Regions from separate parts of the Homo sapiens genome. Here region 1 is linked to region 2. The links are contacts of gene promoters, found by promoter capture Hi-C in blood cells and fetal thymus (Javierre and others, 2016). All regions are on one chromosome and are shown on one strand. The core of a region is centred on a gene start or on the middle of the fragment in contact, and the rest is flanking DNA. Distances in the headings are between cores, read along the strand shown. Region 1 overlaps ITFG1 (integrin alpha FG-GAP repeat containing 1). Region 2 holds the start of LONP2 (lon peptidase 2, peroxisomal).

What was found. The method cuts DNA at HindIII sites, captures the fragments that hold promoters and counts their contacts. A CHiCAGO score of 5 or more calls a contact.
Region 1: a contact is called between a fragment that was not itself captured here and the fragment with the promoter of LONP2 in region 2, in 1 of 17 cell types (total B cells). The highest score is 5.1, in total B cells.

What each region holds. Positions count from the first base shown.
Region 1 is chr16:47,156,963-47,161,083 of GRCh38, reverse strand. It overlaps ITFG1 (integrin alpha FG-GAP repeat containing 1), which reads left to right. Exons shown (of 18, transcript NM_030790.5): 17 at 2,094-2,211. It overlaps ITFG1-AS1 (ITFG1 antisense RNA 1), which reads right to left. Exons shown (of 4, transcript NR_110904.1): 2 at 3,480-3,529. Among named protein-coding and RNA genes, the nearest start is that of ITFG1-AS1, 15 kb to the right of the region's middle. The HindIII fragment of the contact is 5,243 bases long and covers 1-3,952 here.
Region 2 is chr16:48,241,717-48,246,374 of GRCh38, reverse strand. It overlaps LONP2 (lon peptidase 2, peroxisomal), which reads right to left and starts at 2,075. Exons shown (of 15, transcript NM_031490.5): 1 at 1,754-2,075. The coding sequence starts at 1,986. The region is part of intron 1 of ABCC11 (ATP binding cassette subfamily C member 11); the gene reads left to right. RefSeq lists an enhancer at 2,050-2,139. The HindIII fragment of the contact is 24,694 bases long and covers 1-4,658 here.

The DNA of each region.
Region 1 (4,121 bases), core at 82-2,581, 1.1 Mb after region 2:
TAAAAGTATTCACTAACATTTAAATTTCATAGGGAAAAATATGCTAGACAAATATCAATATGAGAAAATAACCAAAGAGAAATGGTGAATTTATCTATGAATATGTAACCAGTGGGGTCCCCTGCTTGTTACATTCCCTCTGAAAATACCAGCTTCATCATTCTTTATTAAACATCTCGATCGAATGTATTGATTGCCAAAACCAGCTTATGCCACTTCATGACCTGACTCTGTGCATCTCTATTCAGTGAAGTCACACTGAAATCAGTTATGGTAGGAGAATCTACTCCATGAAAATTGGCAAGTACCATAAACAAGGCTTCCCGAACCCCTCTCTACCTCAGAGCCAGTTTACCAGCATACCAGCAGATGCATTTTATGGTAAATTAATGGGCTTCAGAACCAAACTGCTTAAGAAAATAAACTTTATCACAGCCTTATGCTTGGAATAAGATGACATCATTGAAACAGTTATAGTCCTGGTTCAGATTTTTTTTAATGAGCCTGTATTGTATGTTTGTGTTAGTTTTCTATAGATGAAATTTACAGTAAAACTAGAAAATCTGGACCATGAGTAGGAAACTATATAAAGTACGGTACTTCTATACAGCTCAGTAGCATGATTTTTTTTCACTGCCACGGACATAGAACAGTCTCTTAAGATGGAGTGGTAAGCAAAAAACAATAACAACAACAACAAACAAAAGAAGCAACAGCAAAATGTAGAAGAGTATGTATAATAAGCAGCCATTGTGATTTAAAAAGAAGCCATCTATACATACATGTTCATACATGTATAAAATATCTCTGAAAGGATATGCAGGAAACTGGTAAGAGTGACTGCCTCTGAGGAGAAAACTGAGGATTGACTTTTGTCTTTTTTTTTTTTTTTTTTTACCAAAACACTTACATTCCTGATTTGTTAAAAATCTATTTTAAAAGTAGAACTACCAAAAACATCTCATAAAAGAACTGTTTTCTTAAGTATGAGTATAACACTAAGAGTAGCTTTCAACTAATTAACAGTATTTGTTTTCTTAAGGTTTACTTACTCTTCTGAATTTCCAGAAAATTATACCATAGCTTTTTTCCGTAATCTCAACATTTTTCATGTTTCTCTTACTCTTTCCAAAGAAATGTTCTTTTCAAATTTATGTACATAATAAAAACCAAATTGATTTTAGTTTTTGAGGTGTATTTTGAGGTTATTGACTAGAAGCTAACTTATGGATCAATAAATTTTAATTATCCCAGAATAAATCAATAGCTACTTGCTATTTACCAGAACAGTCTTACCTTTATTAAACTTTTAAAATAAAAATATAGCCATTACCTATTTCTAGGAAGAACAAAAAGTTATGTGTATATAACAACCTTCACACTTGGTGATACAGTCCTTAGTTTTAGGCTTTCAGGGTGTGCAAATGCTATATTACATGGACTGTTTTAGAAGGAAAGAACTAGTTCTGTTTACTAAAGACCTCTAGTCTGTATATTGCCATTAACAGTGAGGGACTAAAGATGATTTTGTAAGTGATCTGAACCTAAAAGTCATTGTAGTAATGTAAACACTCCAACATGATATAAAAATTATAGAAGTTTTGCACAAGCCATCAACATTTATGTTTTACTTGGTCACATTATATATGTGACACAGGTCAAAAATAAGATGATACAGAAGGCTTCTAGGATCATGTGACTACCTTGCTTTAGAGTTCAGGTTTTCAAATTAAGCAGGTAAATCAAGATGTAAAAAAGATGTCTATGATTATCCAAAGTACCCTTGGATATGTTTACCTAAAAATAATTCTCATAGGATCAAACTTGGAAAATGAAAAATATTGAAATATCTCATCAAAAATTCTATTTCAGTTGTCTAGGTAAAATATAAACTGCAGAATCATCAATATTCTCAGCACTATCTGATTTTTAATTGTTTTTGTTTTATTTATAATGAATGGACTGATGAATGAATGGTTTAATGAATACATTGACTGTTTAATTAATAAGCTATTTTGCTTTGGGGTCTCAATATAACTTTGTTATTTTTAAATAAAATTTGTAATTTTAATTTGTTCTGTTTTTATCTACAGTTGGAGTGCCAAACTGTATCTTACACCAAGTAATATTGTTCTGCTTACTGCTATAGCTCTCATCGGTGTCTGTGTTTTCATCTTGGCAATAATTGGCATTTTACATTGGCAGGAAAAGGTTTGTTCATTTAAAGGAAGCATTAATTTTGGTTAATTTATTCTAGTAATACATACATTGCTCTTTAAAAACACTATATTTATTTTAAACTTTTTTCATATGACTAGAATTTCATCATTTTTCAAGTTCTGTTCAAAGCATCATTTTATTGATGATAATTTCTTTTATCCCTGGAAGTTACTAATGTCTCCTATCAATTCATACAAATCACAAGAGATGTCTACTTTAAAAGTTTGATGCAGTACGGTAGTAATAAAGTGATCAACCGGAAATCAAAAGGCATTTAGAAACAATTTCATAATGACCTGAAAAATAATAATGATTTTAAAAAATGAACGTGTGTTCAGTATGTACTGATAAAGCCATGGACATTCTTTGGCTAGGATTATCAGCTATCTCTTTGAAAAGAATTAGAGTGAAAAGAGGTTAAATTATTTTCTTGAGGTTTAGGTGGAAGGTAACAACTGAAGCAATAAACAGCCAGGCATGGTGGCTCATGCCTGTAATCCCAGCACTTTGGGAGGCCAAGGTGGACAGATTGCTGGAGCTCAGGAGTTTGAGACCATCCTGGGCAACATGATGAAACCCCGTCTCTACAGAATACACAAAAATTAGCCAGGCACCATGATGCAAGCCTGTAATCTCAGCTACTCAGGAGGCTGAGGTCGGAGAATCACCTGAGCCCAGAAAGTTGAGGGTACAGTGAGCTGCGATTGTACCACTTCACTCCAGCCTGGGCAAAAGGAGTGAGACCCTGTCTCAAAAAAAGAAAAAAGCCATAAACATCTTTTTCATCTATCAAGTATTCTTTGCATTAAACTGATTTCTGTTCTTTAGTATAATACTCTAAATAATAATTGAAAACAAAACTCCCAAATATGTAAAAGATTTTTATGCAAAGAAAAAAGAGGCTATCACTGTAAATTAGCAGTTTAGATATATGTGAAAAAGCTAGTTTCTATTTATATATGGGTTCCAATCAATGCCCTCAAAAAAGGGCTGCTTTGTGGCCCCAAAGAAAGGTGTTTTTCTTTTTTTGCACCTACACTCTGGATTGACATGCCATCATAATCATTTTTTGCTAGAATTACCGTGTTTGTTCTTTTAACATATGAAAAAGAACATATTAGTTGTTCTATAAATGCTCATAGGCTTGTCACTTTTAAAAAATCACTCCTTTACATATCAAAAACAGTAACATGAAGTTACATATTCAATTAACCTTAAGATTGCAACTTAAGAGTAAGATCAAGGACAACCATACATACTTGGTCCAGAAGTATCAGAATATCATCTGAAAGATTCCACAGTTCTTGACCTGTGAAGCAAAGGAAATGAATTTCATTAATTCCTCAGTAGATCTGATTACAGCATAAACATTGCGTGCTTATAACAATAATTATGCAGTGGCCAAAAATGAAAGTTTTAAGTACAAGTATATATTTGACTATATATATACTGTATCTCCTGTGGCACTGTGGTATCTCAAAGAGGTAGAACCTCTTTAACCACTTTTTTACTTAAGCAGGCTGGCTCCTTCTACCATTTTCTCAATGCAGGCTTTCCCCAGTGTCTGCCCCTGGCCCTCTTCTTTCAACACTTTCCCTGCCAATTTCATCTAAAATCATGGCTTCAGATATCCCCAGCTCTCATCTCTAAAGGTCCTTCCCCATTTCCAACTGTCACCATGATAGCTCAACCTAGATGACTTACAGCACCTCAAAACCAGCATTCTAAAGCTTCATCTCTCTTACTTAACCTACAAGATTTCATCACTTGCCTATGGACTCTGCCTCTGTAAGAAGTTCTACAGCTGACTCCACTTCTACATTCCTACTGCACTGCCCCTTCTTACATCCTACTTGGTCTCTTTCTTTCCGTTCTCTCCCCTTTCCATTCTCTCCCCTTTC
Region 2 (4,658 bases), core at 826-3,325:
GCAAAATAATTTGGGAAAAGTAAGCAGAAGGAGCAGAGTCGTATGTTGGGAAACTAGAATCCAATACAATTTATCAAAGAGTACTGAAACTTGGAATGTGACCAATTCCACTCAGGCAATAACCAAAGCAGGTCAGATGGGAGCCAAAATATTTTCCATGCTTGAGAAAATCAAGGCTTTTACAATATAAATGAATACTGGGCTGCTGTGGAAGGTTTGTTGGTCTTTGTTGCTTTGTTTTGCTTTCTTTTAACGGGGGTGGGGGGAGGTACCAGTCTCCTTTGAGAATCTGAAGAAAGCAAAGGATTCTCCTAAAAAAATGTACATAGTCACAAGATTTTGAGGAAAAATAAGACATGTCCAACCCTCCGGAAATCCATTCAGAGTCAGGAACCCCTAATTTAAAAATAAGGGATAACTGCCAGGAAAGGAGAAGCTCTAAACTGAAAACACAACACCTCCAGTAGAGTTAGGAATAGGAGGCGGGTGCTTGGCAGGTGAGTTTGAAGATACTTGTTGAGAGCATACGATATACCAGCATTGTCCAATAAAAATATAATGTGGACCACATATAAAATTTTAGTGGCCACATTATAAAGTAAAAACAGCAGAAATCTTAACATTTTATTAACCCCAAGTACTCAAAATATTACCTTTCCAACATTTAATCCATATAAAATGTATTAATCAAAAAGTTTTTTCAAAATCTGGCGTGTATTGTACACTTACAGCACATTTAGGGTGACCAACCTCCTGGTTTCCCTGGGACGGAGGGGCTAAAACATAGGACTTTCAATGCTAAAACAGACAATCGCAGCAAACCAGGACAACTGGCAATTCTATCATCTCAATTTGACGAGCCACATGCACTACACAGTACTGGACAGCAAAGTCATCCATCATGCATGGTGCAAAGTGGAATATACACATTATTCAATTTATTCTTCATAACTTGCCTAAGAGATGGATGCTGTCAGTTTCCAAATTGCAGAATAAAAGAAATAGAGGTTAAAGCTCTCACCCAAAGTCACACCAATAGGGCGAGGGTACTGGGCAATATAGTAGTAAGCCTGGGGCCTAAGAAATGTTATGAGTGAAGGAGCAGAGGTGAGAAGCTAGGAAAGTTCCAGAAAGGGGGACCAGCGAAAATGTGAGCAGTAAAGGCCCTTTACAAAGGGAAACAGAAGGATTAGGGGGAGAAGGAGAAGGGTGGCAGGGAGTATAGAAGAAAGGCACCCACAAATAGTGCAGTTTAGGAATGAAACAGGAAAAGTTAAAACTCACGGAGCAGAGAATGCCTCAGCGGACAAAAATGATGGGTGACAGAAAAGGGGAGGCGGATAGGAGTAAAGGGCAGTGGGGAGAAAGGTGAAAAGCGAAGGCAAGTGAAGGCAGAGATCACCGGGGAGAAAGAAAGGGCCTGGAAAGTTAAAAGCACTGGCCTAGGAGGCTGAAGACCGAGGGCGAGGAATTGCGGAGAGGGGGAAGAGGATTCAAATTAAATTATCCAGAACGGTAGGGAACTGCGTAGTTTCACCAGGTGTCAGGCACTACTTCATGAACGATCTCATTCATGGTCATGGGGCAGGTATCTGACATCCCCATTTTGCAAGTGATAGCACCAGAGAGGCGGAACCGAGCCGCGAAGGCCGCCCCGAACTGAGCCTCGCGCTCAAGGCAGGCCGTGGCCTGGGCCCAGGTCCCCGGAGGAGGCCGCGCCGCCCGCCGCCGCCGCGGGGGCAGCCAGGCCTACCTGTGCAGCGGCGGCAGGTCCTGCGCGTCGCTGGCGGGGTCAGGCGTGTTGGGGATGACGCCCAGGATGGTGCTTTGCAGCGACGTGCCCTTCAGAAGGCGGCTCCGCACCAGCTGCAGGTTGCGGGCCGAGTCCACGCTGGTGCGCATGGTGGAGCCGGGCAGCAGGACGCCCTCGTGGGTGAGCAGCAGCGGGAGGCGACTGGGGATCTGGATGGGGCTCACTGATGACATGCTGGCAGCCTTTCGCACTGGGGGCTGTCAAAAAGAGCCAGACAGACAGCTGCCCCCGGCCTGCCCCGCAGTCACCAAACCTCAGACCCGCCTCCACGCCTCCGCTTCCGGCTACGCGCTACGGTCCGTCCCCGGGCCCAAAAGCCATGGCTTCGCGCTGCTCTCTAGGAGAGCCTCCCGGTAAGACTTGAGCGTCCTACCTATGCGGAAAGACGTGCACTCAAGCGTGCAGCGACCTTCGCCTCACTTACAGAGTATATTTGGAAGGATGATCTTATTTGAATTGTATATACTTGAAGTGTTTTTAACGTTTTCTTCGATTTTTTACATATACTTGAAGTGTTTTTAACTTTTGATTCGAACTAATTATTTATTTATTTATTTATTTATTTATTCTGAGACAGATTCTCGCTCTGTCGCGGAGGCTGGAGTGCAATGGCGCGATACCCACGGCTTGCAGCCTCTGCCTCCCGGGTTCAAGCGATTCTCCTGCCTCAGCCTCCCGAGTAGCTGGGATTACAGATGCCCGCCACCACACCCAGCTAATTGTTGTATTTTTAGTAGGGAGGGGATTTCACCATGTTGGCCAGGCTGGTCTTTAACTCCTGACCTCAAGCGATCCGTCCACCTCGGCCTCCCAAAGTGCTGGGATTACAGGCGTGAGCCAACGTGCCCGGCCCGAATTGATTTTAGATGTACAAAACTACAGCAGAGTTCCTATATACCTTTCACCCAGTTTCGTCTGTTATCATCTTACATAATCATAGTTCAATGATCAAAACCAGGAAATTAACATTATTATCGTTTAACCTATAGGCCTTACCCAAATTTTGCCAGTTTTCCCACTAATGTCCTTCATTGGATCTGGTCCAGGATCCAATATCCAGGATCCTGTTGTGAAATCTCCTAGGTGTTTTGTTATGAAATCTCCTAGGTGTTCTCTAATCTGTGGCAAGTCCTCAATTTTTTTTTTTTTTTTTTTTTTTTGAGACGGAGTCTCGCTCTGTCACCCAGGCTGGAGTGTAGTGGCGAGATCTCGGCTCACTGCAAGCTCCGCCTCCCGGGTTCATGCCATTCTCCTGCTTCAGCCTCCCGAGTAGCTGGGGACTACAGGCACCCGCAACCACGCCCGGCTAATTTTTTGTATTTTTAGTAGAGACGGGGTTTCGCCATGTTAGCCAGGATGGTCTCAATCTCCTGACCTCGTGATCTGCCCGCCTTGGCCTCCCAAAAGTGCTGGGATTACAGGCCTGAGCCACTGCGCCCGTCCAATTTTTTTTTTTTTTACAACCTTGATACTTTTATTTTTTTTCTGTTTTTAATTTAATTTTATTTTTTATTATAGTTTAAGTTCTAGGGTACATGTGCACAACGTACAGGTTTGTTACATATGTATACATGTGCCATGTTGGTTTGCTGCACTCACTAACTCGTCATTTACATTAGGTATATCTCCTAATGGTATCCCTTCCCCCCCACTCCCCACCACCCAACGACAGGCCCCTGAGTGTGATGTTCCCCACCCTGTGTCCAAGTGTTCTCATTGTTCAGTTGCCACCTATGAGTGAGAACTTGCAGTGTTTTGTTTTCGGTCTTTGCGATAGTTTGCTCAGAATGATGGTTTCCAGCATCATCCATGTCCCTACAAAGGACATGAACTCATCCTTTTTTATGGCTGCATAGTATTCCATGGTGTATATGTGCCACATTTTCTTAATCCAGTCTATCATTGATGGACATTTGGGTTGGTTCCAAGTCTTTGCTATTGCGAATAGTGCCGCAGTAAGCATACGTGTGTGTGTGTCTTTATAGCAGCATGATTTATAATCCTTTGGGTATATACCCAGCAATGGGATGGCTGGGTCAAATGGTATTTCTAGTTCCAGATCCTTGAGGAATTGCCACACTGTCTTCCACAATGGTTGAACTAGTTTACAGTCCCACCAACAGTGTAAAAGTGTTCCTATTTCTCCACATCCTCTCCAGCACCTGTTGTTTCCTGACTTTTTAATGATTGCCATTCTAACTGGTGTGAGATGGTATCTCATTGTGGTTTTGATTTGCATTTCTCTGATGGCCACTGATGATGAGCATTTTTTCATGTGTCTGTTGGCTGCATAAATGTCTTCTTTTGAGAAGTGTCTGTTCATATCCTTTGCCCACTTTTAGATGGGGTTGTTTGATTTTTTCTTGTAAACTTGTTTAAGTTCTTTGTAGATTCTGGATATTAGCCCTTTGTCAGATGGGTAGATTGTAAAAATTTTCTTCCATTCTGTAGGTTGCCTGTTCACTCTGATGGTGGTTTATTTTGCTGTGCAGAAGCTCTTTAGTTTAATTAGATCCCATTTGTCAATTTTGGCTTTTGTTGCCATTGCTTTTGGTGTTTTAGTCATGAAGTCCTTGCCCATGCTTATGTCCTGAATGATATTGCCTAGGTTTTCTTCTAGGAATTTTATGGTTTTAGGTCTAACATTTAAGTCTTTAATCCATCTTGAATTAATTTTTGTATAAGGTATAAGGAAGGGATCCAGTTTCAGCTTTCTACATATGGCTAGCCAGTTTTCCCAGCACCATTTATTAAATAGGGAATCCTTTCCCCATTTCTTGTTTTTGTCAGGTTTGTCAGAGATCAGATGGTTGTAGATGTGTGGTATTATTTCTGAGGGCTCTGT